Linked DNA regions of Homo sapiens: region 2 is linked to region 1. Evidence: promoter capture Hi-C in 16 types of primary human blood cells and fetal thymus (Javierre and others, 2016). All regions are on one chromosome and are shown on one strand. Each heading gives the region's core, a stretch centred on a gene start or on the middle of the fragment in contact. The rest is flanking DNA. Distances are from core to core; before and after follow the strand shown. Region 1 holds the start of TXNL4A (thioredoxin like 4A). Region 2 overlaps LOC105371951 (a long non-coding RNA gene).

What was found. Contacts are between HindIII fragments. The CHiCAGO score rates a contact against its expected background, and 5 or more counts as called.
Region 2: a contact is called between a fragment that was not itself captured here and the fragment with the promoter of TXNL4A in region 1, in 1 of 17 cell types (total CD4 T cells). The highest score is 6.2, in total CD4 T cells.

Annotation. Positions count from the first base shown.
Region 1 is chr18:79,987,259-79,989,958 of GRCh38, forward strand. TXNL4A (thioredoxin like 4A) reads right to left here and starts at 1,305. Exons shown (of 3, transcript NM_006701.5): 1 at 982-1,305. The coding sequence starts at 1,134. RefSeq lists silencers at 1,118-1,357, 1,398-1,687. The HindIII fragment of the contact is 10,310 bases long and covers 1-2,700 here.
Region 2 is chr18:153,413-156,112 of GRCh38, forward strand. It overlaps LOC105371951 (a long non-coding RNA gene), which reads left to right. Exons shown (of 4, transcript XR_935081.2): 3 at 1,997-2,103. Among named protein-coding and RNA genes, the nearest start is that of USP14, 3.8 kb to the right of the region's middle. The HindIII fragment of the contact is 5,646 bases long and covers 1-2,700 here.

The DNA of each region.
Region 1 (2,700 bases), core at 55-2,554:
ACTAAATAAGAAATAGCAAAAATTAATAAATGGCAGGCCAGATAGTCTTTCCTTTCCTGAATATAAAATATGTCCTTACATCTGTTACTCTTTACTCAAAGGAGTTATTTTAACCCAGGCCTACTTTTTAGCATCTGTGAAAGAAAAGATAGCTTCAATGTTACTTTTACTCTTCATTAAAAGGAATAACCTCTCAAATTACTTATGGAAAATTAATATGGCAAATATTTTATTAACACCCTAGTATTTGTGCCCTTTGCCCTATTGCTACAGCTGCAAAACCTCAATAAAAGTCATCCTAAAATTGCTATGAGGAACCACAGAAAAAGAATGAAATCTGGTTATAAAATAGTGTCCTACAACTTTTATTGTCAGCAAGTAAATGCCAAGACCACTCAGTGTACTAATATTAGAAATTCAGAGAACTAATTCTAACAAAGCATATTTCTATTTTCTCCTGATGTTTACTGCACCTCAATCACTGTAAGCTGTAAACCACATGACTCACAAAAAGCGTGGTGGGATAAAAAAACACACCCACAGAAAAGCAGGATTTCTCATGCTATGAACATGAAAGTCCTGCTTTATGCATACAACGAATAACTCAGGTACCAAAAAAAGACGTCCTTTTAAATTAAGGATCCGCGCTCTCAATAAAACCTGCAAGTGCATTTTGTTCACTGAACTATAAGTTTGGGAAAAACGCCTTATCAACAGAAATAATTAATTCATTTGAGAGGAGGGGGATCATAAACCCTTTAAAATATGAAAAACTACAAGAGCTCCCCGCAGAAAAAGGCGTGAAACGCCGGCACAGTCCCCGAGAGCGCTCGACCGCAGCGAGGGGAGGAATCGCCTGAACGACGGAGCCGCGGCCCCTCCTCGGGGAACAGCTCGCGCCCCCAGGCGACGCCGGCAGGGCAGAGGCGCGGGGCAGATGCGGAAGCACAGCCCGCAGAGCGGGAGAGTCCGGCGCGCTACCTTCTCGGCGATGCTGTACAGGACCTCGTCCATCTTCATGCACGTAGGATCCCAGTCGTGGCCGAAGCGGATGACGACCACGCGGTCCTCCTCCGAGAGGATGGCCTGGTCCACCTGCCAGCCGTTGTGCAGGTGCGGGAGCATGTACGACATGGCGGCCCGCGCGCTCGCCGCCGCCCAAGGCGGGGCGCCAGGGAGGGCCCAGCGAGGTGGGCTCAGCCGGCCCCTCACTCCCCGGCCCCCGCCGCCCCCGGGCCCACGGACGAAATCCGGTCCCGCCCGCACACGCAAACTCCGCTGGGACTGCCACCCGGCAGAACGTCTGGGCGCGCACGCACCGACGCCGTGCGTGCTGACGGCATGCGCGCGCGCTAGCGCCGTGCGTGCTGACGGCATGTGCGTATAGGCGCCGCGCGAACGTGTAGTTGGCCGGGTGGAGCGGCGGCGACCTGGGCACCGTGGAGCGCCGTTGGTTCCGTCATAGCAGCTGTCGGAGTGGGGGTTCCTCCCCAGCGTCCAGGCGGCCTGGTGGTCCTGAGAAGCCCCGGGCTCGCCGTGCCCTGCCCCCACGCTCCCGCCCCGAGGCCGCCCGCCGCCGCCCGGGCTGTCCTCCAGCCACGGATGGGGACGTCCAGAAAGGCCCGGAATGCCCGGCACTGCGGCTCGTTTTCTTCCTTTCTGGTGCTTGTTTCTGTGTGTTACTAAGACAGTTCATGTGTGTCATTTGTGAAACTTGATCATAAAAATGTGTCGTTGTTGCCATACCCAACCACAGCAGAGTCGAGCAGCGGGGTAGGGAGGAAGCACTGGGCAGGCCGTCCTTGAGGAATGTCACCATCAGGCCGGCTGCTGAGCTGCCTGTTGTAACCTGAAACCAGGTTTTTTAATTTGTCTTTTTATAAAGAAAAAAAATTTTTTTTTGAGACGTGCAGTGACGTGATCTTGGCCCACTGCAGCCTCCGCCTCCCGGGGTCAAGCGCTTCTCCTGCCTCCGCCTCCCCATAAGCTGGGACTACAAGGCGCCAGCCCGGCTAGTGTTTTTTTGTACTTAGTAGAGACGGGGTTTAACCATGTTGGCCAGGCTGGTCTTGAACTCCTGACCTCAAGTGATCTGCCCGCCTCGGCCTCCCAAAGCGCTGAAATTACAGGAAGAAGCCACCGCGCCCGACCTAAAGCCAGTTTTATTCCATAGCTTCAGCATAACTTCCACCTCCAGGACTGATCTGGCCCCCTGGCTTCGCTCACCAGTCAGAGCTCCCCAAACCCTTACTAGTGCCAGTGAACTTTCTCAAAGAGAAATAAGTTAATATTTCTCTTTTTAAAATAAAACCTCTAACCTCTGTTCTTCTGAGAGAGCACTTTGGGTTCATGCTGGAGACTCCCTGGTTTGCAAACTGATATTGATAGTAAAACTCTTGTCTACTATCTAGCTATCCTGGTGGTCCTTTAGATGACAAATTTAAAACAAATCACGCCCGGGCGCGGTGGCTCACGCCTGTAATCCCAGCACTTTGGGAGGCCGAGGCCGGCGGATCGCCTATGGTCGGGAGTTCAAGACCAGTCTGGCCAACATGGTGAAACCCCGTCTCTACTAAAAATACAAAAAATTACCCGGGCATGGTGGCGCCCGCCTATAATCCCAGCTACTAGGGAGGCTGAGGCAGGAGAATCGCTTGAACCCAGGGGGTGGAGGTTGCAGTGAGCTGAGATCGCACCACT
Region 2 (2,700 bases), core at 48-2,547, about 80 Mb before region 1:
TTTGAGACAGAGTCTTGCTGTGTTGCCCAGGCTGGAGTGCAATGGTGTGATCTCAGCTCACTGCATCCTCCGCCTCCCAGGTTCAAGTGATTCTCTTGCCTCAGCCTCCCGAGTAGCTGGGACTACAGGTGCCCGGCACGATGCCCAGCTATGTTTTGTATTTTTAGAGACGGAGTTTCACCACATTGGCCAAGCTGGTCTCGAACTCCTGACCTCAAGTAATTCGCCCGCCTCGGCCTCCCAAAGTGCCGGGATTACAGGCATGAGCCACCGTGCCCGGCAGGATTCCAAATTATTTAAGGCAGGGCTTATAGTTTATTATTTATTATTTATTTTTTAGACAGAGTCTTGCTCTGTCACCCAGGCTGGAGTGCAATGGCGCAATCTTGGCTCACTGCAACCTCTGCCTCCTGGGTTCAAGTGATTCTTCTGCCCCTGCCTCCCAAGTAGCTGGGATTAGAGGCGCATGCCACCACGCCCGGCTAATTTTTTATATTTTTAGTAGAGCTGGAATTTCACCATGTTGGCCAGGCTAGTCTCGGACTCCTGACCTCATGTGATCTGCCCCGCTTGGCCTCCCAAAGAGCTGGGATCACAGGCATGAACCACTACACCTGGTAGGGCTTATAATTTATAATTTAGTAGAGAGAGAAGAGAGAAACATAGGAATATTAAACTGTAGATGCTCTAAGAAGGTGTAGTGATATTTGTTGTTTTCTGTTTTATTATTTATTGTCTGTCCTTGGTAGACAGAAAAATACTTCTACAAATATGTCCATGTTTTAATCTCCTGAACCTATGATTATCTTGGTTGTCTTCCAAAAGGGACTGGCTGATGTGATTAAGGATCTTAAAATGAAAACAGTATCTGGAATTATCCAGTTGGGGCTAACGTAATCACAAGGGACCTTCTAAAAGGAAGGCAGAGGTCAGAGTCAGAGAAGGCGCTATGACGACTCAAGCAGGGGTTGGAGTGATGCTGTGGCTGGAATGGAGCCAGGAGCCAAGGAATGTGGACAGTATCTAGAATCTGGGAAGGGTAAGGAATAGATCCACCCTCAGAGGCCAGGTGCGGTGCCTCACTCCTGTAATCCCAGCACTTTGGGATGCCGAGGCGGGTGGATCGCCTGAGGTCAGGAGTTCGAGACCAGCCTGGCCAACATGGCAAAACCCTGTCTCTACTAAAAATACAAAAATTAGCTAGCGTGGTGGTGCGTGCCTGTAATCCCAGCTACTTGGGAGGCTGAGGCACAAGAATCGCTTGAACCCAGGAGGCGGAGGTTGCAGTGAGCTGAGATGGTGCCACTGCACTCCAGTCTAGGCAAAAAAGTGAGACTCTGTGTGAAAAAGAAAAGAAAAAAAGAATTCACCCTCAGAGCCTCTAGAAGGAATGCAGTCCTGCCAACACCTTAATGTTAAGACCAGTCTCAGACTTCTGACCACCAGAACTGTAAGATAATAATAAACTTACGTTGTTTTAAGCCACTAGGTTTGTGATAATTCATTACAGCACTCATAGGAAACTAAATCAGCCATAATAAAACATAATAGTATTTGACACAAAGGGGTGATTGTATAAGAAGGCTTTCAGTTTATGTGAAAAAGTTAGCATTAAATGGAGATTTTAAAGTTGGACAGGATTTCCCATGGCCAGATGAGGAAGGAGGGTACATTCTAAGCAATAAATTGTAGGTAATTCACCAAGTGAAAACATTTCTGATATTTGGCTATGTTTTATAGAACTTATTTATGTATAAACATGCAGGTTAAGATCTTACCAATTTATTCATTAAAGAAGTCACCCTTAAGAAGAAAATCCCATCCATTAAACACATGGAGGGCAGGGCTTAGCAATGTGTGTCATGGCGATGAGGTCGCTGTCATCTTTAACTCTGACGTTTAGGAAGGCCAGTTGTGCAAATTTCTTTTTATGCTTCCTTTCAGTTGCTAGCATGGTTCCACCTCCTCACTCTGCCCCCATTTGTCTTAAATTTAGGTCTGCGGATCTTCAGAGAGGCTGGAAGAAGCTAGTTGTACCAAAGGGACCAAAACTTGGTCTACAAGATTCCCTGGTCATCTACATGATGAATAAACTTCAAATAGGTAACTTTCACATCCAGTTCTCACAGCATCAAGTAATTCCTGAGTGCCTACGAGATAGCCACGATTCCTGTTTATAGTGTACTTGGGGGAATACAGACATTAAAAAAATAGAAGTGTGATGAGAGTTACTAAAGAAAAAGCTGGCCGGGCATGGTGGCTCACGCCTATAATCCCAGAAGTTTGGGAGGCCGTGGGCAGATAGCTTGAGGCCAGGAGTTTGAGACCAGCCTGGTCAACACAGCAGAAACCCCATCTCTACTGAAAACACAAAAATTAGTCAGGCGTGGTGGTACACACCTGTAATCCCTGCTCCTCAGGAGACTGAGGCATGACGATCACTTGAGCCTGGGAGGCGGAGGTTGCAGTGAGCCAAGATTGCATCACTACACTCCAGCATGGGCGACAGAGCAAGGCTCTCTCTCAAAAAGAAAAAGAAACAACAACAACAAAAAAGCGCAGGTTGCAATGTGAGTGTAGCAGACAGGATGATGATTTTTGCCTCTGAATCTCTCAATCTTTAGGCCTCCTTTACTATCAGCTTCAACAAAGGGCAGCACAGATTTTTCCACAGATGATCTATACATTTTTATTTGGTTT